Regions from separate parts of the Homo sapiens genome. Here region 1 is linked to region 2. The links are contacts of gene promoters, found by promoter capture Hi-C in blood cells and fetal thymus (Javierre and others, 2016). All regions are on one chromosome and are shown on one strand. The core of a region is centred on a gene start or on the middle of the fragment in contact, and the rest is flanking DNA. Distances in the headings are between cores, read along the strand shown.

Region 1 (6,127 bases), core at 2,280-4,779, 1.6 Mb after region 2:
CCAGGCAGAACCCATGAAGGTTTTAAGACACCCTCCTCTCTCTAAGCCTCATACAAGTCCTCAGGTTGAGATCCACATTTCCTATCTGTGTGTTTTGGGGGAGGGTTCACCCACCTAAGCATTTACGCCGCATGCCATGCTAGGACCAAAAGCACAAAGCTGGGCAGGACCCAGGACGTGCCCTCAAGTGGCTCACACCAGGAACGATTGGAAAGGAATGATTGGAACGATTGGAAAGGCTTTGCTGGCTGACCGACCTCAGAGGCTAACTCTAGACCCCAGAAGCAGTGACCCATCTGACCTGCGCAGACTTCCCAATTGGGTCACCATTAACAAGGTGTGGGGAAGCATATACGCTTTCCAAAATAATGCCTGTGACCTCAAATATACAGCATCATGTAGGTCTTTTTTGTTTTTGTTTCTCTTAATTTTAAGTTCCAGGATACTTGTGCAGAAGGTGCAGGTTTGTTGCATAGGTAAAAGTGTGCCATGGTGGCTTGCTGCACCTATCAACCCATCACCTAGGTATTAAGCCCCGCACGCATTAGCTGCTTATCCTGATGCTCTGCTCCCCCCGCTCCCCTGACAGGCCCCAGTGTGTACTGTTCCCCTCATGTAGGTCTTTAAAATGTTCTTTGAATTATGAATTATTTCAAGAATATAAAAAAGTATAAAATAATATAACAAACACCCATATCAACACCTGTGAGATTTAATCATTCTTAACCTTTCGACACACTTGCTTCAGACCTTTCATTTTAGAGAAGAAAAAGATCTACAGAAGAATACAGGTAGAGGTGAAGTCCTGTTTATAAATTATGTAAATGTGGTTTTCCCTGTTTTATAAACATTGTGTAAGTGGGGTGTTCTACTTGCCTTTCAATGTTTGGTTTGAAAGATCCATCCATATGAATACAGTACACGGGCAGTCCATTTTAACTGCTGTATAGTATTCTACTGCCTCATAAACAATTCGCTTATCCTGTGTCCTGAGGTGGACATTTAGGATGTTTCCAATTTTCTTGATATTACAGTGCCACATTGACGTTTTTACACAGAACTTCTACACACACATGAGAAATTCCCCGGGGTACATCCCTAGAAGTAGAATTGCTGAGTCAAAAGTGTGCGGTTCTCCCCATTTGCCAAATATTGCCAAATTGCTCTCCAAAGAGTCTGTACCAATTTACGTTTCCACACAGCGACTCGTGATGGTTTGCGTTGCTTCACGTCTTCCCCGTTACTGGGGATGAAAGGATTTGAATTCTTGCCAGCCTGATGGGTGAGGTGGAATCTCACTGTTGCTCTGATTTGCATTTCCCTGGGCTGAACTTGTTCTCATATATTTACTGGCCTATCAAGCTTCCCCCTCTATTCTTTACCCGGTTTTCTCTTTGTTGTTTGCCTTTCCTAATTTTGAAAGAGTTATTTATATATTCTTTTTTTTAACTTTTTTTGTAACAGCTTTATTGAGATATAATTCATGTGCCATACAACTCACCCACTTAAAGTGTACATTCCAGTGGCTTTGACAATATTCGCAGAGTTGTGCATCCATCACCACAATCAATTTTAGGATTTTTTCATTAGCCCAAAAAGAAACACTTTAGCCCTCAGCCCCAGGGCCCTTCACTCCTCCATGGCCCTGGCCACCATGCTTCTGTTTTCAGTCCCTCTAAATATGCCTGCTCTACACGTTGCATGGAAATGGAGTCATACAGTGTGTGATCTCCTGTGTCTGGCTTCTTTCGCCGAGCATAAATGTTTTCAAGATTCGTCCATGGTGTAGCATCTGTCAGTACTTCATCTATTTTTTCACTGTGGTAAAATATACATAACATAAAATGTATCATTTCAACCATTTTTAAGGATACAGCTCAGTGGCATTAAGTACATTGGTGTGGTTGACCAACCATCCCCACTCTCCACCTCCGGAACTTTTTCATCTTCTCAAACTGAAACTCTGTCCCATTCGACACTCACTCACCGTTTCTCTCTCCCTCATCCCCTGGAACCCATCATTCTACTTTTTGTGTCTGTGAATTGGACTACCCTAGGTATCTCATGTAAGTGAAATCACACAATATTTCCTTCATGTACACTGTCTTCGCATAATTGTGCATAATTGCGCCTTAGCACGATGTCTTCAGGGTTCATCTGTGCTGTAGTGTGTGTAGGAATGTGCTGTTTCTTTTTTTTTTTTTTTTTTTTTTTTTTTTTTGAGACAGAGTCTTGCACTGTCACCCAGGCTGGAGTGCAGTGGTGTGATCTCAGCTCACTGCAACCTCCGCCTCCTGGGTTCATGCCATTCTCCTGCCTCAGCTTCCCAAGTAGCTGGGACTACAGGCACCCGCCACCACGCCTGGCTAATTTTTTTTTTTTTTTTTTTTTTTTTTTGTATTTTTAGTAGAGACGGGGTTTCACCATGTTAGCCAGGATGGTCTCGATCTCCTCACCTCGTGATCCGCCCGTCTCGGCCTCCCAAAGTGCTGGGATTACAGGCGTGAGCCACCACACCCGGCCAGAATGTGCTGTCTTCTTAAGGCTGGAGAGTATTCCGTTATATGGATACTGTGCATTTTCTTTGCCTGTTCAACCACTGGTGCACGCTAGGGTTGTTTCCACCTTTTGGCTCTTAGGAATAGCGCTGCTGTGAGCACTGGTGGGCACATATTTATTTGAGTCCCTCCCTTCAATGCTTTGGGGTGTATACACAGAAATAGAGTTGCCAGATCATATGGTAACTCTATATTTAATTTTTTGGGGAGCTGCTATACTGTTTTCCTACATATATATTCTTAGCACTTGTTTTTTCTTAGTTATGTTTGTTGCAAATACCTTCCCCCAATATATGGTCATCTTTATCTTTCTTGCCTAGGAATTGTAGTTTTAATATCAAATGTATGAATCTTGCCTTTACGGCCATTGCTTGTTGTATTTTGTTTAAGATGCTTTTCTACCCAATGTTGGAAGGTATTCTATCATTCCACTTTTGTGTATAAATCTTTAATCTATCTGAATTGACATATTTATTTGTTGTGAGGTAAAGAGCTAATTTAACTTTTTTTCCCATTTGGATAACCAAATGTCCCAAACAGCAAATATTTCCCACTGATGCGTAACTCTGCCTCTGTCCTAGACCAGCGAATCTTTCGGCCAGTTTGGCCAATTGATCTGCTTTCTGTTCCTGCCTTGATGCTGCACTGTCTAAATGACAACAGCTTTTTAATAAGTCAATGCTTGGAAAGCAAATCCCACAGCATATTTTTTCCATTAAAATTGTCTTCATTTGGTCCTTTACTCTTGCATGTAGGTTTTAGGATTATCTATGCAAACTCCATGAACGCCATTGACTTTAGAGTTGAATGTTAAAGTGTGCACGGAAATCCTCATGATATTTTACCTTCCCTTCCATGATTCCAAGATCCCAATTCCACCTGCTTCATTTTGTAAACAAGGACATGTTGGCATTCCCACAGCCATACAGGGACAGTGAAAGAGACCAGGCCAGCGGCCTTGGCATATTACTCCTTCCACCAACTTCAAATAGGAACTTCCCCACCCTAATGCCAGAGCTTTGCCCTCTATTCCCTTTCCACCTGCGCCCAGGCATTAAGTCACTCATTCATTCAGTTAGCATTGTTGAGTGTCAACAGGCCTTTGGGCTATGGTTGTGGTCACACTTCCTACTTCCAGGAGCCTGCAATAGGACACAGCTCTGAGGACTGAGCTGAGCCCCACAGTTATCTCTTGAGAGTTAAAACTGGCTCTGAGCCCCTGTGTATGGTCAGTGAAGATGGGAGACACAGCGGGTGGGAAGAAAGAGACAATGGTGCAGGGCATGGAAGGGGCATTGGGGGTCAGCGGCTGTGTGTGACTCACGCCAACCAACCCACAGGAAACCAAGTAGAGAAACCAGAATGTCAATGCATTAATTTTTAACTGAAACAAAAGATGACCACCAACTTTACCAGCGCTTACTTCCTGTGGCCAAACATTTGCTCCGTGTAGACAAATTACACTGGGAAACCAAATGATAATCAGAAGTTTGCTCAACAACCTTGGAGGGAAAAGAGTGAGAATTGTTTCCAATTTGAAGGCGTCCTAACATCACGTGAACTCATTTCTATGGCAAGGCATTGCTGGCAGCTACAGTGGACCCACCTCTAGGCCGGGAGCCCTCCCTGTACCGGGAGGACACTGTGTCTGTGTCTGCCTCTCTGCTTCTTCTGAAACATTCAGCCCATTCTCCAGAAACACAAACCCTGTCTTTGCACGTGATCATGCTCTGAACATGGCTGTAGTAAAAGTATGTTCAGAAGACAGCCAGGGTGTTTTGCTCCTCTGATTTGACTTATAATTTAACTCTTTAAACAAGTTATTTCTAATTTCTTGGGGACAGGAAGAATGTGCATTTGGCCGGCAAAGGAACTGAGGCTCAAGAGTTCACAGGACTCAACTATCCCAGGCTACCCAGATGATGGCTGCCAAACTGGATTACAACCCAGGTTTTAATCTAAACTAAATCCAACTAAAAAGGAGTAAATGTCTGAAAATGCCAGTCAAAGCACGAAAGGTTAAGTGGCTAAATTTGGCACCTAACCACATCAACCTCTGTGGCTAAGAAGCTGGAAAGTGGAGACCCTGACTTCTACTCCTTTATAACTTCCCACAGTACCTGGTCCAAAATGTGCTCAGGCAGGCTATTCATACGTGTTGACAGCTAAGTAACCCCCTTCCCCAGATGGTCCCAAACATCCACAGAGGCCTAAGGCTAAACCACATATTTTTTTCCCTTTTCCCTTCAAGTCACCTTTCAACCCACACCAGGACTCCTTCAGGGAACAGCTGGGGGTCCCTGAGTCTCTTGCTGGAGGGTCTGCACCATCCTCTCCCTGTCCCAAAGTTCTCTGAGTCTCTGGACCTTTCTGTCCCCCTGTCTTCCCCACTTGGACTCTACTTCATCTTAGAGATGCTCCCATCGGGTTTGGGTTGGTGACGGTTATCCTTAGAGGCACAGGTGGGTCCTACCTCCATCCTGGACCAGGGCACCCTTCCTTCACGGTGGCCATCCCCTCATTGCTAGCAAAGCCTCTGTGGCTCCCTGTCCCACTGAAGATTCCCACCCTGCCAGGACTTTGGAGCAGAAGGAAAATTCCATCTGGCCTCACATTTCACAGGTACTTCTTGAGTGCCTGGGATTTAACCTCTCAGCTCCTCAGTTTCTCCATCTGTAAAAGTAAAGGAGGTCAGGTTGGATGATCTCTAAGCTCCCTTCCATCTCTGTTCATTGGTGATTCTCAGTGCATGAACATTTTTAAGGATCACTGGAAGGGAGTATAACATAAATAATCAATTTAGTGAAAACACATACATTCCAATGAAATGCAAATTTCTTTAAGATGACTATAGCAGTAGTGTAAAGTGAGTCTGGGTGATAGCATGGAAGTCATCCCTATACCACCTGCAAAGGGACTGCCCTCAGGGAAAAATAACTGAGTAGTAAAGGAAAAGGAAGTGATGCTATTTTATCATGTCGACTTCCAGGTATATTGTTTTAAGCTATTTGATGTTTTGGCTTTTATGGTAGGAAAAAACATCTACCTGTAGAATGTTCAAATGAGTTGTCCATTTTCACGTGCACATTACAAACCAGAAGAACATTTATCATATAAGGTAATGGAAGCCTGTTTATGTAAGCTTGTTATGTTCAAGGCAACAAATTCAGAGTGTGTAGGCTGTACGTACAATGCAGTTTTTAAATCTGCTTACATTAAAAATTCTTTCTTTTCTGACATCTTCTGGTTCCTTTTTTCCTTATCACAAGGTTTCCTGAGCTGGGCTCCATAGACATTAAGAGACTTCTGGATGCACCTCAGAGGTGCCCTCAGCCCCCTAAAGTTGTGGGGCATATGCACTCTTTCATAGTGGCTTTCATCTGATTTTCAAAGGGACCCTTGCCCCGCAAAGTGGCCTCTGATTATGCTTCTCGTTCATAGGCAGGGGAGAAAAATTTCCCAACAAGACCTGTATATGGATAAGCCACCTAGCAGAAAGAATCTCAATTCTGGATCAGAGAGACCTGGGTTCACGTCAATTTGCCAGCTGAACTCTACTTTTGGACAAG
Region 2 (5,454 bases), core at 2,955-5,454:
GTTCCTTTTGAGGGCTGTGAGGAAGAATCTGGTCCAGGCTCCTCCACCAGCTGCCGGTGCTTTGCTGGTCATCTTTGGCATTTCTTGGCTTGTAGAAGCATCACCCAAATCTTTGACTTCAGTTCACATGGTGTTCTCCTTGTGTGTGTCTGTGTCCAAATTTCCCCTTTACATAAGGACACCAGTCATATTGGATTAAAGCCCACTCCAGTATGATCTCCTCTTAACTAATCATATCTGCAATGACCCTATTTCCAAAGAAGGTCACATTCTGGGGTACTGGGGCTTAGAACTTCAGTATACGAATTTTAAGGAGGCACAAGGTGTCCGTGACAGTGCTGTGTTAAGTGACTGGAAGGATGAATTTCCTTTTTCACTTGCACTTTCTTTCTTGAAGTTTTGTTTGAAGCTGCTTGAAGACATCTCTGCATCCTGTCTTATGTGGATGCTACTCCCACTGCAGAGATTATTCGAGAGGTTGGAAAGGTTGGAAAAGAAAGAGAGGATGCTTTTGAAGGGAGAAGGGTAAGAGTACAGACAAGGGAAGCTGTATTAGTCTGTCTGTTCCCACACTGCCAATAGAGACATGCCTGAGACTAGGTAATTTATAAAGAAAAAGAGGTTTAATGGACTCACAGTTCCACATAACTGGGGAGGCCTCACAATCACGGCGGAAGGCAAGGAGGAGCAAAGTCACAGCAGGCAAGAACATTTGCAGGGGAACTCCCCTTTATAAAACCATCAGATCTCATAAAACTTATTCACTGTCACGAGAACGGCACAGGAAAGACCCACCCCCATGATTCAGTTACCTCTCACCTGATCCCTCCCATGACATACGAGAATTATGGGAGCTACAATTCAAGATGAGATTCAGGTGGAGAGACAGCCAGACTGTATCAGAAGCTTTGCCAAGAAGACCCGGAGAGTAGCAGGAACTCTCCTCTGTTCTTTGGCATTACCCTGTGAAGGCTGTGTGGCTCACCTGGGGACTGTGCCTCTGGCAGGAAAGTCTTGTGCTGTCTGCTCCTGAGAGAAGGCATGGCTTCTGGAATGAGATGATCAGTAGCACAGATGGGCTGAAGATGAGACGTTACATTCCACATTCCCAGAACCATAATATCCCCCAGATTCCTCTGTGTCCTTAAGGAGAGAAAGTCAGAATGAGAACTGACATTTGATTTCCTGCTACTCTAGAGAAACAAGAAATGGAATTTGTTAATTTTTAAAATAAAAAAAGTGAATTTTCTATATTTATGGAATGTGTGATTACAAATTCACATAAACTTCCTTGTCTAATTTTTTTTCTTTTCTTTTTCTTTTTCTTTCTTTTTTTTTTTTTTTGAGACTGAGTTTCGCTCTTGTTGCCAGGCTGCAGTGCAGTGGTGCGATCTCGGCTCACCGCAACCTCTGCCTCTGGGGTTCAAGCGATTCTCCTGCCTTAGCCTCCCGAGTAGCTGGGATTATAGGCATGTGCCACCACGCCTGGCTAATTTTGTATTTTTAACAGAGACAGGGGTTTCTCCATGTTGGTCAGGCTGGTCTTGAACTCCCAACCTCAGGTGATCTGCCTGCCTCGGCCTCCCAAAGTGCTGGGATTACAGGCATGAGCCACCACACCCAGCCCCTTGTCTAATTTTTTAAAAAAAATTCAAGTGTGGGTCTTGAGCTTCCCTTGATTTTCTGTCTAGAAGAGAAGTGTCAGAACGGCTATCTGCTTTCCCAGCTTCTGGGCCATTTGCTGCAGCACTGAGTCGCCAGCCTGCTTCGCATGAGCAGGGAAATTTTGCCCATCTAGGTAATCAGGAAGAGCTTGTTCAATGAGTGAAGGGTGAGTCATACTGCATTGGCACAAACTCTTGGCAACAATGAGTGTCCTTTACAATGGGCTCTATGGGACAGCCCTCTGGGGGAGATGGGCCAGCCAGACCTGAGTAAGGGGCTGGACTGAAAACTGACAGTGACAGGTGGAAGTGAACTTGAGAGACCCAACAAACTTCTTGTTGGAGAGAACTAGGACAGCTGCTCAGAGGCAAAGCTCAGAGTAGAGGATTTCACTCAGTATTTATTGAGCACTTATTATGTTCAAGGCCCTAAGAGGGAATATGTAGAAAAATGCTGTTCTCTAGAATCGTAAGATCTAAGCATCAGAAAGTGAATGCCACAAACATTAAGTGTGGCAGATGCCATGATCAACACAGACAAAGACTAAGTATTACACCAGCTCAGAGATCAGAGATCTAGGGATGGGGAACTCCATGATAGGCCGGGAAGTCTTTGCAGGGAAATCTGCATCTGAGTGCCTTTTGAGGCCTGCTGCAAACAAAACTTTCAATGCCAGTGTCCCCTCTCACTATCTCCCCAACAATGGTTGCATTCACAAAGACAGAGCAGGGGAATGAAGTCACATGTATTACCACATGAGCAATTACAAGTCTCAGTTGGGTCAGGGCATTTTTGCACCTTAACTCTCTTCCTGCAGCCCCAGATGCTCCTTTGCAGTCCCCCAGCTTGAGTGTTATACGTCTGTGTTCCATGAGAATGCCTGCATCTTAATACAGACCCCTTTATTGTGGGGAACACAGCACAACGTCTGTGCATTTGCAGTCACCCACCTGTGCATCCCCTGAATCCTTCATTCATAAGTAGTACTCAACCAGGAACTTCTTTGGTATCCCAGCTCGGACACGGGAGGTGTGAATATATTTTTCATAAAGCCCAGGCCTTTATGCAGAACGATTTTCATCCTCTAGTGAGAGGCTGAAGTAACAAAGTGCTGTTGTTAAGATTCTTCCCATTGTGCATTTTTCTTGAATAATGACATTTCTAAAAAGAATCTGAAACTGAGGCATTAGAAGGCAAGTGCTCGTTCATATATTTGAAGAGGTCAAATATTTACCAGAATAACTTCTCAATACAGAGGGGACAGCTTTATTTTATTTTACTATAAAGATGTATGTGTAGCAGAAGACAAATTATGCAGAGCTTTGAGTTAGTTAAGAATCATCTGATTTAATTCTTTGGAGAAATGAGACAAATTGTAGCTAAGGACTATGGAGTTGTTTTAGTTTGCCAGTTATATTTAATTTGACTATTTCTTTATTTATTGAGAGACAAAGTCTCACTCTGCTGCCCAGGCTGGAGTGCAGTGATGCAAACACAGCTCACTTCAGCCTTGACCTCCTGGGCTCAAGCAGTCCTCCTGCCTTGGCCTCCCAAAGTGCTGGGCTTACAGGTGTAAGCCATGGCACTTGGCCTATTTGACTTGTTTAATCCCTCCGAAGAACTCATACATACTATTGCCACCTCATTTTCCACGTAAGAAAATGGAAGCACGAAGACCTTAATAACTTGCTTAATGGCTAGTAGGTGGTAGAGCTTGAATTTAGACCACACAGTGTGGAGGGTATGCTATTAAGGAAAAACGATGTTCTAGTGGGGTTTCCATTTAATATTGCAGAAAAAAGAATCTATATATTTAAGAAGGTGTTATTTCATGCACACTCGTAGGTTTTGTTCATATATGCACATCTGACGTATAATTTAACATTTGTGTAACTTCAAGCTTCTATGGGGAGTGGCAGAAGATGCAGGAATTCTATTAATACCTTCGCAGATCTTAGATTCCAACAAGCTGGATACCTTAAGAAAAATAAAGAAATTGCTGTGCTTGGATCCCAGATGTCCATTCCACCTTTTGGGACCTCCCGGGGGGCCCTCTTTTCTTCATCCTTCAAGACAAGGATAGTGGGGTGAACAGACAGACTTTCCTTGCGAGGGTTGGCTCAGGAAGGCTCTGGGCTCATCTCACAGCCGCCCCAGCGAGGGTCGGGGAGGCAGGTGCTGGCTCCGGTGGGGTCTGCGGCAGAGCAGGACTGGAGCCCAGGGCGCAGCTGCACAGCTCAACGCCGGTTCGCGCCCTGGTTTACAGCGTTGGGCTGGGTCACCCCTTCTTTCCTAGCTTGCTGCTGTGTGTTCCCTCGGTGTAGGAATCAGGGGAGTGTCTTCTGGAGGCCACTAAAGCAGGAATAGCATTTTCATGTTAGCGTGCACGGGCGGTCTCCGCAGCCCCTCCTCGTGCCGGAGCCTGTCCTGGGGCCTGCGGGGCGGCTCCGGGCCTCGGGCCGGCGCAGGCGGGCGGCAGGGGGCGCTGTGCGGCTCGGCGCGGGGGCGGGGCCGGGGCCGAGCCTCCCGCGTGCCCGGCCTCTGTGCGCGCTCGCGCCCCGCCCGCGCAGCCGCTTCTCCCCGCGCGGGCTCTCGGCAGGCGGGAGGCGGCAGGGCTGGCATTGCAGTGCGGGCCGTGCGGGCTGCGCGGGCGCGGGGAGGCGCGGGCGGCAAACTGCGGGCACCCGGCACCCCGCAGCCAGTACCGGGCGGAGGCGTCAGAGCCGCGCACCGCGGACGAGCAGGCCCAGGTAGAGTGACGCGCGTCCCCTTTGTGTCCGCATCGCCCGGGCCGGCCGCGGAGCGGGGAGGGCGGGACGCGGCGCTGCGCGGCCGGCCTTGGGGCTCGGGGCTTGCGGCCGCGCCTGCCCCGCTGGGTCCTGCCCCGGCGCCCGGTGGCAGCGGGCGGGGGGCAGCGTCCCGGGCGGGGACTCGCGGGCTCCGTTCAGAGGACGCCCGCCCTGCCCTGCCCGTGTCCCTGACCTCGTCCCTGCTCTGCTCCTGCCCTGCCCTGCCTCTCGCAGGCGGCGCCCGCGCCCCAGGGCAGTGGGCGCTTAGGGACCTGGCGTCCCCCTGCCTGCCCTGCGCGGTCGCGGGTCTGCGCTGCGGCGCGGGACAGGGCGCCCCGGGCCAGGGTCCCGCGGGCGAGCTGGCGGCGGGGGCTTTCAAGGTTCGCGGCCCCGCCCGCAGACCCTGGGGCTGGAGCCTCGGCCCCAAGAGGAGGTCTGGGAAAGGACGACGCGTCCGGGGCATCGCCACCGGCGGGGAAGGTCGGAACTGGCCAAGAGGATGCCCCGCACATCCCCTGCGCGCGGGGTCCGCGGCTGCTACTGCCCCTGGTCCCCACCGCGAGCCCTTTCCCGGGGAATGAGCCGCCGCCCGAGCCCCGGAGTTCCCTGCGGGTCTTACCCACCCCAGCCTCCGGCCGCCGACCCCAAGCCCCCTGCACTGTGCTTGGCTCCCAGCTGTTTGGTCGCTTATGCCATCCTGGAGGCTTCCTGGTCCTGGGGTGAAGGGGTGACTTCTTTACCCTAATGGTCTTCGTAGGCAGGTCTCAGGATGTCCACTCCAAAGTTCGTGGTCTTTTTTCTAGAGAATAATAATTTTTAAAATCCATTGAACTGGCCGGGCGCGGTGGCTCACGCCTGTAATCCCAGCACTTTGGGAGGCTGAGGCGGGCGGATCACGAGGTCAGGAGATCGAGACCACGGTGAAACCCCCTCTCTACTAAAAATACAAAAAATTAGCCGGGCGCAGTGGCGGGCGCCTGTAGTCCCAGCTACTCGGGAG

Evidence for each region. The method cuts DNA at HindIII sites, captures the fragments that hold promoters and counts their contacts. A CHiCAGO score of 5 or more calls a contact.
Region 1: a fragment that was not itself captured here is called in contact with the fragment with the promoter of RNF144A in region 2 in 1 of 17 cell types (non-activated CD4 T cells); the score reaches 7.0 in non-activated CD4 T cells.

The regions. Positions count from the first base shown.
Region 1 is chr2:8,466,110-8,472,236 of GRCh38, forward strand. No RefSeq gene overlaps it. Among named protein-coding and RNA genes, the nearest start is that of LINC01814, 110 kb to the right of the region's middle. The HindIII fragment of the contact is 4,338 bases long and covers 1,361-5,698 here.
Region 2 is chr2:6,913,208-6,918,661 of GRCh38, forward strand. RNF144A (ring finger protein 144A) reads left to right here and starts at 4,205. Exons shown (of 9, transcript NM_014746.6): 1 at 4,205-4,415. GRASLND (glycosaminoglycan regulatory associated long non-coding RNA) reads right to left here. Exons shown (of 5, transcript NR_033997.1): 1 at 5,195-5,454; 2 at 3,643-4,017; 3 at 2,616-2,760; 4 at 986-1,143; 5 at 1-457. RefSeq lists a silencer at 4,045-4,534. The HindIII fragment of the contact is 2,406 bases long and covers 3,564-5,454 here.